7 separate regions of the Homo sapiens genome follow, and regions 1, 2, 3, 4, 5 and 7 are each linked to region 6. The links are contacts of gene promoters, found by promoter capture Hi-C in human tissues and cell types (Jung and others, 2019). All regions are on one chromosome and are shown on one strand. Each heading gives the region's core, a stretch centred on a gene start or on the middle of the fragment in contact. The rest is flanking DNA. Distances are from core to core; before and after follow the strand shown.

What was found. The method cuts DNA at HindIII sites, captures the fragments that hold promoters and counts their contacts. A contact is called where the count stands out against the background at its distance.
Region 1: a fragment that was not itself captured here is called in contact with the fragment with the promoter of EIF5 in region 6 in 1 of the 25 tissues and cell types used here (lymphoblastoid cells).
Region 2: a contact is called between a fragment that was not itself captured here and the fragment with the promoter of EIF5 in region 6, in 1 of the 25 tissues and cell types used here (hippocampus).
Region 3: a contact is called between a fragment that was not itself captured here and the fragment with the promoter of EIF5 in region 6, in 2 of the 25 tissues and cell types used here (dorsolateral prefrontal cortex and hippocampus).
Region 4: a contact is called between the fragment with the promoter of TRAF3 here and the fragment with the promoter of EIF5 in region 6, in 1 of the 25 tissues and cell types used here (thymus).
Region 5: a fragment that was not itself captured here is called in contact with the fragment with the promoter of EIF5 in region 6 in 1 of the 25 tissues and cell types used here (hippocampus).
Region 7: a contact is called between a fragment that was not itself captured here and the fragment with the promoter of EIF5 in region 6, in 1 of the 25 tissues and cell types used here (hippocampus).

What each region holds. Positions count from the first base shown.
Region 1 is chr14:102,682,675-102,685,374 of GRCh38, forward strand. The region is part of intron 3 of RCOR1 (REST corepressor 1); the gene reads left to right. Among named protein-coding and RNA genes, the nearest start is that of RCOR1, 91 kb to the left of the region's middle. The HindIII fragment of the contact is 3,535 bases long and covers 1-2,700 here.
Region 2 is chr14:102,519,940-102,522,639 of GRCh38, forward strand. The region is part of intron 1 of LOC105370680 (a long non-coding RNA gene); the gene reads left to right. Among named protein-coding and RNA genes, the nearest start is that of ANKRD9, 12 kb to the left of the region's middle. The HindIII fragment of the contact is 6,441 bases long and covers 1-2,700 here.
Region 3 is chr14:102,351,605-102,354,304 of GRCh38, forward strand. All of the region lies in intron 3 of CINP (cyclin dependent kinase 2 interacting protein), which reads right to left. Among named protein-coding and RNA genes, the nearest start is that of CINP, 9.9 kb to the right of the region's middle. The HindIII fragment of the contact is 9,147 bases long and covers 1-2,700 here.
Region 4 is chr14:102,776,053-102,778,752 of GRCh38, forward strand. It overlaps TRAF3 (TNF receptor associated factor 3), which reads left to right and starts at 1,397. Exons shown (of 12, transcript NM_145725.3): 1 at 1,397-1,623. RefSeq lists an enhancer at 1-209 and silencers at 920-979, 1,070-1,679, 1,890-1,939, 2,180-2,239. The HindIII fragment of the contact is 12,756 bases long and covers 1-2,700 here.
Region 5 is chr14:102,570,373-102,573,072 of GRCh38, forward strand. No RefSeq gene overlaps it. Among named protein-coding and RNA genes, the nearest start is that of RCOR1, 21 kb to the right of the region's middle. RefSeq lists enhancers at 1-183, 2,680-2,700. The HindIII fragment of the contact is 6,435 bases long and covers 1-2,700 here.
Region 6 is chr14:103,332,976-103,335,675 of GRCh38, forward strand. EIF5 (eukaryotic translation initiation factor 5) reads left to right here and starts at 1,262. Exons shown (of 12, transcript NM_001969.5): 1 at 1,262-1,285; 2 at 1,414-1,622; 3 at 2,678-2,700. It overlaps EIF5-DT (EIF5 divergent transcript), which reads right to left and starts at 1,685. Exons shown (of 1, transcript NR_158216.2): 1 at 1-1,685. RefSeq lists an enhancer at 718-837 and silencers at 1,158-1,577, 1,718-1,767, 1,878-2,117. The HindIII fragment of the contact is 9,721 bases long and covers 1-2,700 here.
Region 7 is chr14:102,612,624-102,615,406 of GRCh38, forward strand. All of the region lies in intron 2 of RCOR1 (REST corepressor 1), which reads left to right. Among named protein-coding and RNA genes, the nearest start is that of RCOR1, 21 kb to the left of the region's middle. The HindIII fragment of the contact is 9,224 bases long and covers 1-2,783 here.

The DNA.
Region 1 (2,700 bases), core at 120-2,619, 650 kb before region 6:
TTGGCCACAATGTCCATCTTAAATTGTACTCAGAACTGAATATGAAGAATACTGAGCATTTTTTGAACCTTTATGCCAGCACAGTACTAAAATGTTTTTCATACTCCTGTATCATTCAGTGTTCACAGTAACCCAGGAGGAAGATTTTTTCTCTGTTTTACAGATGGCATCCCATAGTTCAAAGAGTCAGAGGGTTGTAAAAGTAGCACAGATAGTGAGTGGCGGAACCCCAAGTAGTTCACTCCTGGGTCATAATCTCACTTATTTCTCAGGCTGTGTTCATTTAGCCTGTTAGCCACTATCTTTCTGTTATTACAGTTTAAAGTTGTATTAGTCACTTTTCCTATTGTATTGCTTATTGGAGTCTTTGGAGTCAGAATTTAATTTTAATGTTATCTTATTTTTCATAGACCTAGAAGAAAAGGGCAGAATATGTAAAGTTAATTGATTTTTAAACAGTGGTGTTGCCTATAAAATAAATTTACAGTTTTATTGTAAGCCCTGATTACAATCGTTTTAAGTTTAAAGTTGGTTAAAACTTTAAACTTTAAAAAAACTAACCTGTCCACTGAGGCTCCCAGTGGACAGCGAGCTCGGCTTGTGGCTGAGACACACTTGAGCCAGGCCAGAGGCATAGGAGGACCAAATTTGACAGATATCAATACACGATTCTTACTGAGGCCTTTGAAACGGACCCTTGTCCTGGAATTACTGTCAGAAAAGAACCGGCCAGAAAAACAGACTCCCGAGCCACGAGTCCAGGTTTGGTTTCAGAATTGGAGAGGTGGAGCACGGAAAAGAAGCCAGAGCAGCGCCAGCGTGGAGGCCACCTGGGCGCAGGTCCCCCCGATCCCAGACCCTGGTCAGCCTGGGGTGCTGACCCCTACTGTTCCACCAGCGGGGCTTCCCCGGGGGTCCCAAGCAATGTGGGCAACTTCTCTTGGGAATCGGAGGATGCTTTGGGCCAAGCTCTCCTCTGGGGGCGCGCTGATGTTCCGTGCGCGAATGTGGCCCCCGCTGACCTGGAGATGGCAGCCAGTGCGCTCGGCCACGCTTAGGGAGATGTCCCTTGATCTCCGCCCTCGGGCCCAGTGCTGCTTCCGGGTCCCTCTTGCCACCAGCCCTTCCCACAGCTGGAAGCTGGCAGTGCTGGGCCTCAAGTTCATCCCGGGGCACCCGGCCTGCTCCCCATACACCAGTCCCTAGCTCTGCGGGGGCTGGGGCTGCACCCTCCTGCTGTGGAGCAGCAGCCGAGGTGGGGCTGGCAGCTGGGGGAGGCGCCTGGGTGCGCCGTGACCTGGGAGCAGCCCTCTCCGCCCCAGCCCCCGCAGCTCTGACCGTATCCCGCCTCTCTGCCTCTTTCCTGGCCATAGTCACAGCCACAGCCATCGCAGGACCCGGCTGAGCGCTAGGAACAGGTTCCTTGTCTTCCTCCAGAATCCAACTCGCACGGGAGGCCCCAGCACCCCTGCCCCCAACCCGCTGCGGAGTCTGAACCTCAAGCGGCTGCATAGCAAACCCGTGGAAATGACCTGTCAGTGTCAGGCAGTGGAAGACAGATGAACTAAGCAAGGGCTCATCGGTAGTGTTCACGTTATGAAAATTGAAGAGAAATATCAAGATTTATTTACTTTGTCACGGAAGGGCTTCCAGACATACCTTTCAGGGAAATCGAGTTGTTAGGGTGGAAGGGCCTTGGGGTGCATGAGACCTAGGGGTTTTCCTTAGATGGCATAAAAAAGGATTGACTTTATAGAATACATCTGTCTTTCCATTTATTAACCGAGTAAACACGGAGCACTGAGAGTGAACAAAGTCCACTAGCGAGAAGGCAGGATGAGGACGGCTTTGTAGAAATGCATTATTTTCTATCAGGAAAGAGCAATGATTTCTACTCTGGGAAAAAAACAAAACAAACACTTACCTAAAAGTAATATTTACATATTGTTGAAAGTTCATAGATAAAAGTATAAAGAATAAAAAAAATTCACCTATTATTCCATCACCCAGAGGTGATAATCGTTAAACATTTTGGGGTATTTCTTCCAATTTTTTTTGTATGTATTTATATAAGTGAGATGATAGATTATCTGTGTGTGTGTATGTGTGTATTGTCTTCCTGAGCATCGGACCTAAGCAGTTTCCACGTTGTTAAAACTGCTTATAAAGGTTTTAAATAACTAGGTGTAATACTTTATTACATGGATATGTCAGTATGTTTAACAATTACTCTATTGAAAATTTAGGTGTCTCAGTTTTGGAAGAATATGGAAGTCTTGGTTGTCCAGCATTTATTCTGACATTAAGTAGAAATAAGTGATTTAGGACATATTTCTAGCAGATACTAAAAAACTGTGTATAGGATGTCTGGAGATCCCTGGCTTTTCTTGTGTGTGTGTGTGTGTTTTTTTTTTCCTCTTCTTTTCAAAGTGGCTGTTCAGAGTTCTGCCTCTTAGGGTTACTGAAAGCTTATAAAGTTATGTTGTAATTATAAAAATAAATGCTATTTTAGAAAATTCAAATAGTACATAATGCATAATATATAATTGTTTTCCACAAAATGTGAACTGTTATCAGTCTGCTCATAAGTACATCTGGGACTTTGTTTCATCTCAGTATATCTACAGTTATCTAATTTTTTTTTACTGTAACTAGTATGGATGTATCATAATTTAGCCTTTTTTTAAACAAAATTACCTG
Region 2 (2,700 bases), core at 41-2,540, 810 kb before region 6:
GGATTACAAGCGTGAGCCACCATGCCTGGCCTGAAAACATCTCTAACACAAAGATCTGTATGTGAACGTTCTGTGAGATAAAGTAGCACACCTAGGAAGCCAAGCATGCTCCTTTCTGTTTGCAGCACAGTTTCACAAAGCCCTACCTCTGTGACCACCTGCAGCTCTCCAGAAAGTTGCTTTGAAGACAAAACGCGACAGAGCACACAGTCCCCCTCCCCACGCCTCTGGCTTGAGTTGCTACATTCTCTAAAAGATCCATGACCCTAGCCTTGCCTTTCCCTCCTCATTACATCTGGTTAGGGCCGGGCGTGGTGGCTCACGCCTGTAATCCCAGCACTTTGGGAGGCCGAGGCAGGCGGATCACGAGGCCAGGAGATCCAGACCATCCTGGCTAACATGGTGAAACCCCGTCTCTACTAAAAATACAAAAAAAGTAGCCGGGCGTGGTGGCGGGCGCCTGTAGTCCCAGCTACTCGAGAGGCTGAGGCAGGAGAATGGCGTGAACCTGGGAGGCGGAGCTTGCAGTGAGCCGAGATCGCGCCACTGCACTCCAGCCTGGGCGACAGAGCGAGACTCTGTCTCAAAAAAAAAAACAAAAAAACATCTGGTTAGTGATGATGCTTCTGTGATCTATAACCAGATGTATTCTTACCCAAACCTTGATGTAACTCTGCCTCAGTGTAACTTCTGAGCAAGTCTGATGTGATTTTGCACGTATTGAACTCCCACAATTCATGTATAACTGTGAGCTGAAACTATTTTGGAGCAATCTAAGAAAACCTCACCAAGGAAATGTTCTGGGCTATCAGCCTCTGGGTAATGTCCTCAGGAGGCTTCTGAATCAAACTCACTCTTTTTTGTTTTTTGAGACGGAGTTTCACTCTTGTTGCCCAGGCTGGAGTACAATGGCACAATCTCGACTCACCACAACCTCTGCCTCCTGGGTTCAAGCGATTCTCCCGCCTCAGCCTCTTGAGTAGTTGTGATTACAGGCATGCGAAACCACACCCGGCTGATTTTTGTATTTTTAGTAGAGATGGGGTTTCTCCATGTTGGTCAGGCTGGTCTTGAACTCCCGACCTCAGGTGATCCGCCCACCTCGGCCTTCCAAAGTGCTGGGATTACAGGCGTGAGCCAAGGTGCCCAGCCATCAAACTCATATCTTTTTTTTTTTTTTTTTTTTGAGACGGAATCTTGCTCTGTTGCCCAGGCTGGAGTGCAGTGGCGCTATCTTGGCTCACTGCAATCTCCACCTCCCGGGTTCATGCCATTCTCCTGCCTCAGCCTCCTGAGTAGCTGGGACTACAGGTACCTGCCACCACACCCGGCTAATTTTTGTATTTTTAGTAGAGACGGGGTTTCACCATGTTAGCCAGGATGGTCTCGATCTCCTGACTTCGTGATCCGCCTGCCTCGGCCTCCCAAAGTGCTGGGATTACAGGCGTGAGCCACCACGCCCGGCCCAAACTCATATCTTTAAAAGCTTTCTTTCTTTCTTTCTTTCTTTTTTTTTTTTTTTTTTTTGAGATGGAGTCTCACTCTGTTGCCTGGTCTGGAGTGCAGTGGTGCGATCTCGGCTCACTGCAACCTCTGCCTGCCAGGTTTAAGCTATTCTCCAGCCTCAGCCTCCTGAGTAGCTGGGATTACAGGCGTTCACCACTGCATCCAGCTAATTTTTCTATTTTTAGTAAAGACGGGATTTCACCATGTTGGCCAGGCTGATCTCGAACCCCTGACCTCAGGTGATCCACCTGCCTCAGCCTCCCAAAGTGCTGGGATGGATTACAGGCATGAGCCACTGCACTCAGCCTTTTTTTTTTTTTTCTTTTTTTTTTTTTGAGACGGAGTCTCGCTCTGTCACCCAGGCTGGAGTGCAGTGGTGTGATCTTGGCTCACCGCAACCTCCACCTCCCAGGTTCAAGCCATTCTTCTGCCTCAGCCTCCCAAGTAGCTGGTACTACAGGTGTGCGCCACCACGCCTGGCTTTTTTGTTTATTTTTGTTTTTATTTTTTGAGATGGAGTCTCCCTCTGTCACCCAGGTTGGAGTGCAGTGGCGTGATCTCGGTTCACTGCAAGCTCCACCTCCCAGGTTCACGCCATTCTCCTGCCTCAGCCTCAGGTGTCCACCACCATGCCCGGGTAATTTTTTGTATTTTTAGTAGAGACAGGGTTTCACCGTGTTAGCCAGGATGGTCTTGATCTCCTGACCTCATGATCTGCCCATCTTGGCCTCCCAAAGTGCTGGGATTACAGGCGTGAGCCACTGCGCCCAGCCCTTTTTTTTTTTTTTAAGTGGAGACGGGGTTTCACCATATTGGCCAGGCTGGACTCAAACTCCTGACCTCGTGATTCGCCCACCTCGGCCTCCCAACGTTCTGGGATTACAGGTGTGAGCCACCATGCCCAGCTGCATTTTATTTCTTTAGTCAACATCCATAGCAGCATTATTCATAATACCCTCAAAATGGAAAGGCATATCCATTAACTGGTGAATAGATGTATAAAGTGTGGGATTTCCATACAATGGAAATTATTCAGCAATAATTATTCTCGCCATCTGCCCAGGCTTGTCTCAAGTGACCCACCTGCCTCAGCCTCCCAAAGTGCTGGGATTACAGGTGTGAGCCACCACTCATGGCCTACATCAATAAAACTCTTAGAGAAGGCCAGGTGTGGGTGGCTCACACCTGGAATCC
Region 3 (2,700 bases), core at 71-2,570, 980 kb before region 6:
TTGTCAAATATCTTAATTCCTTTACTTGGTCCTTCCAACCACCCTCCAATTACATTGGAAGTGGCAAGCACTAAATTCAGCTAACGTTAATTTTTAAAGGACTTTACTTAAGTAGTTTCCCAAATCTTTTAAGGTTTGATATTTTATTTGGCCCAACCCCAAGAGGCAGGACTTGTCATTTCCGTTTCACAGCTGGGAAATTGCTTAAGGTTGAGCTGAGGAAGGATGAGGCCAGAACTCGATACCATGCCTTCTGACACCAAGTTTTTTTGTTTTTGTTTTTGTTTTTGTTTTTTTTGAGACAGAGTCTCGCTTTGTCACCCAGGCTGGAGTGCAGTGGCGCGATCTCCGCTCACTGCAACCTCCGCCTCCCGGGTTCATGCCATTCTCCTGCCTCAGCCTCCCAAGTAGCTGGGACTACAGGCGCCCGCCACTGTGCCTGGCTAATTTTTTTGGTACTTTTAGCAGAGCTGGGGTTTCACTGTGTTAGCCAGGATGGTCTCGATCTCCTGACCTTGTGATCCGCCCACCTCAGCCTCCCAAAGTGTTGGGATTCCAGGCGTGAGCCACCGCGCCCAGCCGACACCAAGTTTTAACACCCAATCCTCTGCTCTTTCCTGTGAGTCCTGCAGCAGCTCCCTGGTGCCACCTGATTCTAAGAAAAGCTGATAACAGGAGACTAAGGAAAATTCTGGAGCCTTGACCCCAGGCAAGAAGTCATGCTCAATCCTGCAGCTCAGCCATCAATAAAGAATTCAAGTCACATAGGCACGTGCAGCCCTGAATGAACAGTGCATAAACAGCAGGCCCTTACATTTCAACATCGGTGGCTTCTTCCCACAGCAAACACAGACCACAGTGAAATGTTAGCCCAGCTTAGGAAGAACGGTGCATGAAACCCCCAGAAGGTCAAAGTTATGAAAGACACAGACCAGGTCTGGAAACCATTCTCTATAACGGATAGAGGAAAATAGGAAAAATAATAATACCCTATAAAATCAACTTTTGGTTTTGAACATAGAATGAGAACTTATTCCCAAACCACTTTTCTTTTTCTTTTTTTCTTTTTTTTGACACGGAGTCTCACTCTGTGGCCCAGACTGGAGTGCAGTGGCTTGATCTCGGCTAACTGCAACCTCCGAAAGTGATTCTCCCGCCTCAGCCTCCCAAGTAGCTGGGATTGCAGGCACCTGCCACCACCCCCAGCTAATTTTTTGTATTTTTAGTAGAGATGGGGTTTCACTATGTTGGCCATGCTGGTCTCAAACTCTTGACCTCAGGTGATCCACCTGCCTCGGCCTCCTAGAGTGCTGGGATTACAGGCATGAGCCACTGCGCCTGGCCAAAACAAAAATTAAAAAAAAACAAATAAAAATACAACAATTAGCTGGGTGTGGTGGCAGGCACCTGTAATCCCAGCTACTTGGGAAGCTGAGACAGGAGAATCACTTGAACCCAGGAGGCAGAGGTTGCAGTGGGCAGAGATCACCCCACTGCACTCCAGCCTGGGCAACAAGAGTGAAACTCCATCTCAAAAAAAAAAAAAATTAACAAATGGGAGGGAGGGAACAAATCTCCCACGCAGAATAATTCCAAATAATTTATGTAGATACTGCACCCTCAAGCAGGTGGTGAATACGTCCCTACCCCCAGGTGTGGGCTATGCATAGTGACTTCCTGCCAAAGAGCACAGCGTGGGAGGAGGAGAAAGAGCAACGTCACAGCAGAGGAACCTGGAAACACTGCCCAGCCAGGTGATCAAGGTCAACTTCAGCAGTGGAAAGTCCTGGCTGTGCACAGTGGCTCACGCCTGGAATCCCAGCACTTTGGGAGGCTGAGGTGGGAGCACTGCTTGAGCCCAGGAGTTTGAGACCAGCCCGGGCAATAGGTGGGACCCAAAGAAAAGTCCTGATGACAGTATATCCAGTACGTGCCCTTGATATGACATGATAGAAATGGCACTTTACTTCTGTGGTCCTCCTCTGAACAAAACCCGTAACCTCAGTCTAATTAGGAGAAAAACATCAGATAAATCTCATGATGTTCTACAAAATACCTGACCAGTATCCCTCAACATTGTCAAAGTCATCAAAAACAGGGAAGTCTGAGAAACTGTCACGGCCAAAAGGAGCCTGAGGAAACAAGGGGACTCGATGTCATACAGGATCCTGAAGCCAAAACAAGACATGACGGAAAAGCTAAGGCAGGGCGCCAGGGCTCACACCTGTGATCCCAGCACTTTGGGAGGCCAAGGTGGGAAGATCACTTCATGTCAGGAGTTCGAGACCAGCCTGGCCAACATGAGAACCCCGTCTGTACAAACGAATTTTAAAAATTAGCCGGGCATGATGGTTCATGCTTGTAGTCCCAGCTACTCGGGAGGCTGAGGCAAGAAGATCACTTAAGCCCAGGAAGTAAAGGCTGCAGTGAGCTGTGATCATACTACTGCATTCCACAGCGAGACCTTGTCTCCAAACAAACAAAAAGGTGAAAATATAAAGATCTTAAATGTTTATGGGTAAGCTTCAGTTATCCAAGTTCAAATATGTGTAAAACCTGATTTCCTGTGCCTAGCAAAGAAATAAGGTGGTGTTATCTTCACATCTGGTGGCCAGTATGGTAGGTATTGAAATTTAGTTATTAGTTCATTAAACAAACACTTTAGTCTCTTACGTGCTGTATCAGGGATGGGCAAACTAT
Region 4 (2,700 bases), core at 147-2,646, 560 kb before region 6:
AGCTGTGCCTGTGGCGCAGACGGGGGTGCCACTGTGGCCTGGTGAGTGTGGCTGTAGAACAAGCATCTGTTGGGCTAATGGAGCCAGAGACATGGTCCAATGTCTCTGATGTCCAGATAGACTTCCAGCAGCCAGGTCGGACTATCTGGGGTTCTGGAACGTTCCATGGGTGAAGCTGTAGGAGGAGATGCTGGACTTCCTGCCTCCACTCACATGAGTCACTGGAGCAATACAAGAAGGCAGACTGGCCTTGGCTACTCACACTGGTCTCAGCTCTGGGGTAGGGCTCTTTATAAGCCTTCTTGAGAAGTGAAAAATGCAAAGTCCTTTCTGTCCCCTCACCACTGACTTGCAAACTCCAGCGAAGGCCTCACCCCTCAGCTGGCCCAGAGCCTCCCAGAAGCCCTCCCTTCGCTTCCCACCTCGCCAGGCCCAGCCAGGCTGGGTGCTGCCTTGGTGGGCCTAGGTGAATCACTGACACACCACTGATGCCTTTGGGGCAGAAGGCAGAGGCCTCGGGAGAAATGCGCAGGCCCCAGCGGCCTGGTGGAGGGTGCAGGGGGCGCAGGGGCAGCCAGGACCGCCGAGGACGCTGGGGGCACGTGGCAAACTGGCTACCCTGTCCACCCGTGAGCAAGACACCACTCCGGGGGCGTGGGAGGGTCCAAGGGAGGGAGAAAGGAAAGTGCCACCAAACTAATGTGGAGCCCTGCCCTCTGCATGCGAAAAGGGGCTCCACGGCCTGAGTCACCCTCAGCCCCACCTGCGTGTGCGCGAGGGTGCGTGGCCTGGTACGCGTGCGCACGGTGTTGGTGAGCGTGTGTGTGCGTGTCCGCTTGAGGGGAATGTGACCGTCGTGTATGCGTCCGCGACAGTGCGGGGGGCCGCATATCGGACCCGTGCGTGTGCGTAGGGGTCGCGTGTGGCCATGGGCACACGGGCGTGCACGCACGGGGGCTGCGTATGCTATGCTGGCGTGGGGGGTGCGGGCGAGGTGGCCGCGGGGAGGAGCGGCGCCAGCACCTCTCGGCCCCCACGCGGCCTGCGTGGCTTTTTGACCCGGAAAGGCGGGGACGCGGGGACGCGCGGCGGCGGGGGCGCGGCGGGGGCGGCGCAGAGCGAGGAGGCCCGCGGGGCGCGCGGCGGGGACGGGAGGGAGGCGGGGGGCGCCCGGGGCCGTCCCCGCCCCGCGCCGCGGCGCCGCCGTTGCTAAGGCCGGGCGGGCGGCCGCCGGGCGCTAGGGCCCTTAGCAACGGGTCGCGGGCGCGCGCGGGGGGCCGGCGGGCGCGTGGGGCCGGCGGCGCTCGCGGGCTCCTGCCGCTCCCACGCGCGCGGGCGGCGGGGGCGGGGCGGCGGGCGCGCCGGGGATTTCCAGCGCGCGAGAGGAAGTGCCTGCGCGGGGCTGCGTGAGGGAGCGAGGGAGCGAGGGAGCGCGGCGCGGCCGCCGCGTGCGCGAGCCGGGGTTGCAGCCCAGCCGGGACTTTCCAGCCGGCGGCAGCCGCGGCGGCCGCCGGCTCTTCCCCGCCCCCCGCCATGGGGCAGCCCGGGGAGCAGAACGCTGCGGACCGCGGCGGAGGACGCGCCCGGCGCCCCTGAGCCGGCCGAGCGGCGACGGACCGCGAGGTAAGGGGCCGCGGCGGGCGGGCGGGCCTCCGGCGCGCGGCCGGGCGCCTCCATCCCCGTCGCCTCCATCCCGCGCCCTGGGCGGCGGGGCCCGGGGGCCTCGGGGCTGCCCGGCGCGGGCCCGGCGCGGCGCAGGCCCGGCCCGTCCCAGCGGCGACGGCGGGGCGCGGCTTCAGCCTGGCCCCGCGCCCCAGCCGGGCTGCCTCCCGCCTCCGGACGCCTCAACTTCGGCAAACTTTGTCCCGGAGGCCGGGCTCGGGGCCCGAGGGGGCCGGGGCGCCCGCACCTTTTCAGGAAACGGGGCGCGCAGGCCTCGCTACGGCCGTGACCCCCGCTGGCGTTGAGGACCCGGCACCCCGCGGGGCCGCGGGTTTCACGCGGGGGGACGGGCGGCTCAGGGGCTGCGTGGCCGAGCGCGCTGCCCGGGCCGGCCGGGGGGGCCCGGGCGTTATTGGAAAGTTGGTCCTGAGTCATTCCGCCTCAGAGGCGCCTCCGACCGCTTGGCGGGCGGCGCGGGGGTCCGGGTATGGGCAGAGGGCGCGAATCCCCCTCGCGCGGCCGCCGAGGGCCGGCGACTCCCGGGGCACCGGGCGGCTCCTGGCCGCGGGCTCTGCGTCTTCCCCGCGGGCGCCAGGCGGCTCTCGGCGGGCTGGCCGGTTCCACGCCGCCAGCCAGCCCCGTGTGGGGACTTCGGTCTAGTATTTGGACCCGAGGAGATAATTCTGTGTGGAAAATTCTCTCCCTTCGGTTGGAAACAGTAACAAACTGGAAACGGATGAGGTGTTATGGACGTGCTTGGAAATGCAAGAAACCTTCAGATTACGAGCTGTTGACGGGACCAGTTGTATTTCACGTTTTTCGAATTAAGCTCAGAATCAGTTTTCAGAATGACATGTGATGCGTGGTGCGTGGTGTGTGTGCCTGTGTGTGTGTATGGATATAATTCATTCATTTTTGTGGCGTCAGAAAGGTTATGTCGAGCGTTGTAGCGGCTTCTTAATTTACATTCACGGCATACAACTGAAGAGGAGCCATTATTTATTTTTTTTCCTAGCATTTGCTGCGACTACACACTGC
Region 5 (2,700 bases), core at 116-2,615, 760 kb before region 6:
CCCGCCTTATTTTTGTATTTTTAGTAGAGACAAGGTTTTGGTATGTTAGCCAGGCTCCTGGCCTCAAGTGATCTGCCCCACCTGGCCTCCCAAAGTGTTAGCATATGGAAGCTTCAGAGTTCAGCATTCCTTCCCCCAGGGTATAGGGCCTCTCTGGGGAGGGTCCAAAGCCTCACAATGAGAAAGGTGGGGAGGATTAAAGTCCTGCCTTGGGGCAGATGAAAGGAGGGAAGGAGAAGGTCAGAGGTCTGTCCTTGAGGCTGAACACTCCCAGCGTTGTATGAAAAGACTGGACTTTGCAGTGTCTCATGCTTGTAACCCTAGCACTGAGGGAGAATCCCTCAGCCCAGCAGTTCGAGACCAGCCTAGGCAAGATAGGGAGATCTCATCTCAAATTTAAAATAAATAAATAAATAAATAAATAAATAAATAAATAAATAAAAGGCCAGTCTCAGTAGCTCACGGCCTGTAATCCCAACGCTTTGAGACAACGAGTCAGGTGGATCACTTGAATCCCGGAATCCCGGAATTCAAGACCAGCCTGGGCAATAAAGTGAGACCCTGTAGCTACAAAAAATACAAACAGTAGCCAGGTGTGGTGGCATGTACCTGTAGTTTCAGCTACTCAGGAGGCTGAGGTGGGAGGATCAATCGCTTGAGCCTGGGAGGCAGAGATTGCAGTGACCCATTCTGCGACTGCACTCCAGCCTGTTGGACAGAGCCAGACTCTGTCTCAAAAAAATTTGAAAAGAGACTATAACAAGGTCTTTAGGAGTTATCAACCAGGATCTGTGCACAAATATATATCCTAACCCCACAGGCAGCAGTCAGTTATCACAGCACAGATGCCTGTTATCTGGAGGACAGGCTGCATTTGCCCACTCTGGCTCCTGCAAGCTGTGTGCAAGCCGGTCCAGGACCACCTGCATCTACTGCCTGCTTTGCAGGCTGGGCTGGGAAATGGGTAGCTGCCAAACTGCTAAGAGCTGAAATTGAGCAAAATTAACTGCACTTTACCATCCAAGCCTTCCCCTGGAAGTTACAAGCCTTCAGTAGACTCCAGAGTTTCAAAATAGTCACATCAGGCAGATTCTGCCAGTGTAATTGTTTAGGCAGGAAGACCATTTCCTGATGTTTCCTTCTCTGCCATCTTGATATTATCTTTTGCAGAGCAGTTTTTATTGATTGATTGATTGATTTGCGGGGGTTATTTTTAATGGAGGCCAGCTTAGCAATTATATTTTTTAGCATAATGTTTTCAAGATTTATCCATATTGCCCTTCATTACTTTTCATAGCTGAATAGTGTTCCAATTGTATCCATATACCACATTTTGTTTAATCATTCATCAGCTGATGGATCATAAGTTGTTTCTACTTTTTGGCTGTTATGAATGCAGCTATGAACATTTGTGTATATATTTTTGTGTGAATTGTGGGCATGTGTTTTCTTGTTTTATTTATTTATTTATTTATTTATTTATTTATTTATTTTTGAGACGGGGTCTCACTCTGCCGCCCAGGCTGGAGTACAGTGGCGTCATCTCAGCTCACTGCAACCTCCACCTCCCGGGTTCAAGTGATTCCCCCTCCTCAGCCTCCCGAGTAGCTGGGCGGGCGCGTGCCACCATGCCCGGCTAATGTTTTTTGTATTTTTTTTTTTGAGAGAGTTTCGCTTTTGCTCCTAGGTTACAGTGCAGTGGCGTGATCTCAGCTCGCTGCAACCTCTACCTTCTGGTTTCAAGTGATTCTCCTGCCTCAGCCTCCTGAGTAGCTGGGATTATAGGCACCCACCACCATGCCCAGATAATTTTTGTATTTTTTAGTAGAGACGGGGTTTCACCGCATTGGCCAGGCTGGTCTCGAACTCCTGACCTCGTGATCTGCCCGCCTCAGCCTCCCAAAGTGCTGGGATTACAGGCGTGAGCCACTGTGCTCGGCCTTGTTTTTTGTATTTTTAGTAGAGACGGGGCTTCACCATGTTAGCCAGGATGGTCTCGATCTCCTGACCTTGTGATCCACCCCTCGGTCTCCCAAAGTGCTGGGATTACAGGCGTGAGCCACTGTGCCTGGCCAGTTTGTTTTTGTCTGTTTGTTTTGAGACAAGGTCTCACTGTTACCGAGGCTGGAGTGCAGTGGTGTGATCATGGCAAGCTACAGCCTCAGCTTCCTTGATTCAGACAATCCTCCCACCTCAGCCTCCTGCTGGTCTGGAACTCCTGGGCTCAAGTGATCTCACCTCAACCTCCCAAAGTGCTAGGATTACAGGAGAGGAGTGAACCACTGTGCCCAGACTTTTTTTTTTTTTTTTTTTTTGAGACACAGTCTCACTCTGTCACCCAGGCTGTAGTGCGGGGACACGGTCACAGCTCACTGCAGCCCTGCCTCCCAGGCTCAAGCATTCCTCCCACCTCAGCCATCTGAGTAGCTGGACTACAGGCACAGCAACCATGCCCAGGGAATTTTTGTGTTTTTTGTAGAGATGGGGGTCTTGCCATGTCACCCAGGCTGGTCTTGAACTCCTGAGCTCAAGATAACCTCCCATCTTGGCCTCCCAAAGTGCTAGGATTACAGGTGTCAGCCACCACAGCTGGCTGGGCATATGTTTTATTATTTATTTATTTATTTATTTATTTATGAGACGGAGTCTCGCTCTGTTAGCCCAGGCTGGAGTGCAGTGGCCCGATCTTGGCTCACTGCA
Region 6 (2,700 bases), core at 12-2,511:
ACTGTAACCTGTGCCTCCCGGGTTCAAGGATTCTCCTGCCTCAGCCTCCCGAGTAGCTGGGATTACAAGCGAGCCACCACGCCCAGCTAATTTTTTGTATTTTTAGTAGAGACAGGGTTCCACCATATTGGCCAGGCTGGTCTCAAATTCCCGACCTCAGGTGATCCGCCCACCTCAGCCTCCCAAAGTGCTGGGATTACAGACGTGAGCCACCGCGACCGGCCTAAATAATAGTAATTTTCAACGGAATACATTGGAATCTCATTATAAATGCCTGCTCTGGGCTACGATTTGCTTATCAAAGAATTCACAAGTCATAAACTAGAGGGGGTGGACTCGACGTGATGCCCACTAGGAGAAAGGTGACAAGAGAAGCACGAAGGATAGCGCTTTTCAACCCTGGGAGAGCAGGGAGGCCTTCACCAGAAGGTGGGAACCCACCACGAAGCGCCTTCAGGAGGCCCCAGGATTCCAAACCAATTAAGGGCCTCCTCTTCCGAAAACGGGAGGCGACGCGCTGAGCTAAGCGCGCAGGCTGGGTTGCGGGCCGACACCGAGGCGGCGCGGCCTCGCGACCGCCCTGGGCGGTCACTGGCGAGTCACGGACTCGTTCCGCCAGCGGCCAATCCACCCCGAGTCCGAAACAGAAGACGTCCCTGGGATGAAAGACCCAGGCCTGGGGCTTAAGGTGGAAAAACAACTCATTCCTCGAGGCCCGGAGTCGGGCGTCCCGGGAGAACGGGAAAGGGAGATGAGCGCCCGCTGCGGGGAGAACGCGGTCGGGTTCCTCTCCCCGAAGGTGGCAGCCGCAAAAACACGGCCTCGAAAGCAGTTTCGAGGACGATGGCTCCTGCGTCCCGGGAGTCGCCATGACGCCGCGGCCTGTCCCAGACCCGGCGAGGGAGGGGACCAACCACCATCTCCCCCTCAAGGCCCAAACCGACAAAGAACGGCCCCCGGTACCCCGGCCCCGCCACCAGGGCCACTCCGGGTCTCGCGAGACCCAAGGGCTGCGCCGCGAAGACCTCTGGGAAAGGCGGGGGGAGGGGAGAGGAAGGAAGCGAGACCGGGGCTGGAGGCGGGCCGAGGCCGCGAGTTGAGCCTCAGGAAGCAGAAGGGGCGCGGAAAGATGCGATTGACGTCGCAAGCGAACCAATGACGAGCGAGCTGTGGCAGGCCTCCAGCCAATGGGCAGTGAGGCCTGACGCGGGGGGCGGACGCTGGGGCCGAGGGTAGCTTGAGCGCGGCGGCGGCGTTGTTCAGTCAGAGCGAGAACATTCCAGAGGTGAGTCCGGTGAAGGGGCGGCCCCCTGCCCGGTGCTTCCCGCCCCCTCGACCCCTCGGGCCGCTGGCTGGCGGGGAAGGTGCACTCCCCGACCGCCCACGGCTCACGGCGCCGTCTCTCCGCGCCAGGTCGCCCAGCTCCGGCGCTGACGGGTGTGGACCGCGGACGTCGCTGGGACAGCCCCTCCCCGCTGCTCGGCGGCGGCACCTGGCCCGGCCGCTCCTCGCTGCGCTTCGCCTCCGCCTCCTCGGACTCGGACTCGGGTTTATATCGCGCCTCACTTCATCCCAGTCCCGGGCGAGCAGCGTTGGGTTTATGTCTTTATTTGACGAAAACGGTGAGTCGCGGGCGCGGCGGGCCAGGAGATGGCGGCCGCACAAGATGGCGGCGGCCGCCGCGTGACCCCGCCGCGGCGTGTGGCGCAGTTTGGGCGGACGGCGGGCGGGCGCGGGCCCGGGCGCCGGCCGCCCCCTCCCCGCGCGCTCCCCGGCCCGGCCTCGCCCCCTCCCCGGCATGGCGGGAGCGCGTCGCGCGTGCCCGCCGCTCGGGCTGACTCAGGCTTCAGCTGCTGCATTTGTGAGTCATCGCGCGCTCTGGGGCGGGGGCGGCCCGATCCCGGCACCCCTCGGCCGTGTGTCGCTTCCCGGCTGTGCACCCTCCGGGGCCGCCGGCTCTCGGGGGACGCGCTGGGGATGGGGCCAGACGCCCCGGTCGCGCGCCCCCCTCCTTCGCGGAGCTGCCCGGTTCGCCAGCCCCCGCGGAAACGCCTCGGAGCGCGGTAGCCATGGGGACCAGGGCGAAGGTTAACCGAGTATTTGAATAGCGAGGAAAAGGGAGGCCGGGGCGAGCCTGGCGTTCGCTCGCGCTCTCTTGCTTAATGGCAAATTGTGGGCGAGCGCTGCGTTTAAGGAAGTGCTGCTTTGAAGTAAGCCATGGTTGCCGAAGCAACGATTAGTTGTAGAGAACAGTTCCCTAGGTTGCCCTTAAAAATGAAGACGAACGGGGGTGTGCCTGAGAAGTTTGCTTATCCAGGCGGGGTGGGCGGCGGAGAGGGCTCGGGTTCGTTCTTCAGCACTTCCAGGATGGCCGCAGAGGCAAACCTGCTGATTGCCCTCGGTCTGATGGAATCTCACGGCGGCTGAGGCAGCACAGCTTGTGTTTTCTTGTCAGGCATTTCCCTACCAGTCACAGCTTAGTCGAAATGGAGGCCTTTTTATGTTCCCGCAGATTGTACTGTGTTACATGAGAATGGCTGTTTGCATGTGATCTCAGATGCTTTTTAAGGTGGAGTTAAGCAGAAGCATAACTAGGATGTAAAAAGGAGGCGTTTCCATCCAGCGATGATGTTAAACCTGGGGGGATTTTTGTGTGTTCTTTCCCTTTTTCTTTCAGAGCTGTTGCGCAGCCATTGGTAC
Region 7 (2,783 bases), core at 192-2,691, 720 kb before region 6:
CTGCACCCAGCCTTGTTCATTTCAATATTCCTGATGAAGTACTCCATCTGATCTCATTTGCTCTTAGAAATCTGCTTGCTGGTTACCCTGTGCAGTGGCTCACACTTGTAATCCCAGCACTTTGGGAGACTGAGGTAGGAGGATTGCTTGATGCCAGGAGCTAGAGATCAGCTTGGGCAACATAGCAAGACCTTGTCTCTACGTGCACCTGTAGTCCTGGCTACTTGGGAGGTTGAGATGGGAGGATTGCTTGAACCCATGGGTTTGAGGCTGCTATGAGGTATGATCACACCACTGCATTTTAGCCTGAGAGACAGGAGACAGTATCTCTTAGCAAAAAAAAAAAAAAAGAAAAAACAAATCTGACTACCGTATTGATGATTCTAGTCCAGAATTTTCCAAAGGAGTATAGGTGGTTTTTTTGGTTGTTGTTGTTGTTTGTTTTGTTTTTTGAGATGGTGCGAGTCTCGCTTTTTTTGTTTTGTTTTGTTTTTTTGAGATGGAGTCTTGCTCTGTCGCCCACGCTGGAATGCAGTGGCACAATCTCGGCTCATTGCAACCTTCGCCTCCCGGGTTCAAGCAGTTCTTGTGCCTCAGCCTCCCGAGTAGCTGGGACTACAGGCGTGCGCCACCACGCCTGGCTAAGTTTTGTATTTTTGGTAGAGTTGGGGTTTCACCGTGTTGGCCTGGCTGGTATCAAACTCATGACCTCAGGTGGTCCGCCATTCTCAGCCTCCCAAAGTTTTGGAATTACAGGTGTGAGCCATCGCACCTGGCCTTTTTTTTTCTTTTTTAAACATATTTATTTATCATTTTTTTTTTTTTTTGAGACGGAGTCTCGTTCTGTCGCCCAGGCGGGAGTGCTGTGGCGCGATCTCTGCTCACTGCAAGCTCCGCCTTCCGGGTTCACGCCATTCTCCTGCCTCAGCCTCCCGAGTAGCTGGGACTACAGGCGCCCGCCACTGCGCCCGGCTAATTTTTTGTATTTTTAGTAGAGACGGGGTTTCACCATGGTCTCGATCTCCTGACCTCGTGATCCGCCCGCCTCGGCCTCCCAAAGTGCTGGGATTACAGGCATGAGCCACCGCGCCCCGCCATCCTTTTTTTTTTTTTTAAAGAGGTGGAGTATAACTATGTTGCCCAGGCTGATCTTGAACTCCTGGCCTCAAGCAGTCCTCTACCTTGGCCTCACAAAGTGCTGGGATTACAGGAGTGAACCACCGCGCCTGGCTGAGATAGGTTGTTTTTTGAATTAACTATTCTTTTTTTTTTTTTTTTTTTTTTTTGAGACAGAGTTTCGCTGTTGTTGCCCAGGCTGGAGTGCAGTGGTGCAATGATCTAGGCTCACTGCAACCTCTGCCTCCCAGGTTTAAGGGATTCGCCTGCCTCAGCTTCCCAAGCAGCTGGGATTACAGGCATGTGCCACTACACCCGGCTGATTTTGTATTTTTGGTAGAGACGGGGTTTCTCCATGTTGGTCAGGCTGGTCTTGAGTTCCCAACCTCAGGTGATCTACCCTCCTTGGCCTCCCAACGTGCTGGGATTATAGGCGTGAGCCACTGCACCCAGCCATGTTTTTAAGATTTTTAAACATCTGGCTCTTTTTTTTTTTTTTTTTTGAGACGGAGTCTCGCTTTGTCACCTAGGCTGGAGTCCAGTGGCGCCATCTCGGCTCACTGCAAGCTCCGCTTCCTGGATTCACTCCATTCTCCTGCCTCAGCCCCCCGAGTAGCTGGGACTACAGGCACCCGCCACCATGCCCGGCTAATTTTTTGCATTTTTAGTAGAGACGGGGTTTCACCACGTTAGCCAGCATGGTCTCGATCTCTTGACCTCGTGATCCGCCCGCCTCGGCCTCCCAAAGTGCTGGGATTACAAGCATGAGCCACTGCACCCAGCCCTTCTGGCTCTTTTTAAATGTCAGATATTGATAACTCCCAGACTGAATTAAGATTTTATATGTCAGATGATTAACTATCATTTTGAGTTGTTGCTTAGTTCTCTGCTTGCTTGGCAACAGGTCAGTTTCCATGGTATTGCCATTTTTGTACCGCATTCTTAGTGGAGCTGAGAGGTTGGGGGTGAGGCTACAGGGCCGAACTCTATAAACTAGAATAGCTAAACTTTTATCCAGTTTGGTGTATAAAATTTTTTGATATACAGCTCAGGAAAAGCATATAAAAAACAAAAATAAAAATAATTTCTGAATAATTTTTTTTTTTTTTTGAGACGGAGTCTCGCTCTGTCGCCCAGGCTGGAGTGCAGTGGCGTGATCTCGGCTCACTGCAAGCTCCACCTCCCGGGTTCATACCATTCTCCTGCCTCAGCCTCCCGAGTAGCTGGGAGTACAGGCACGTGCCACCATGCCCAGCTAATTTTTTGTATTTTTAGTAGAGACGGGGTTTCACCATGTTGGCCAGGATGGTCTCGATCTCTTGACCTCGTGATGTGCCCGCCTTGGCCTCCCAAAGTGCTGGGATTACAGGCGTGAGCCATAGTGCCCGGCCCCCCCGCCCCCACCTTTTTTTGAGACAGAGTCTTATTCTCACCCAGCCTGGAGTGCAGTGTTAACGATCTTGGCTCACTGCAACCTCTTCCTCCTGGGCTCAAGTGATTCTTCTGCTTCAGCCTCCCAAGTAGCTGGAACTACAGGTGTATGTCGTCATGCCTGGCTAAATTTTTTTTTTTAATATTTTTTAGTAGAGACGGGGTTTCACCATGTTGTCCCAGCTGGTCTCGAACCCCTGGGCTCAAGCAATCCACCCATCGTGGCCTCCTGCAGT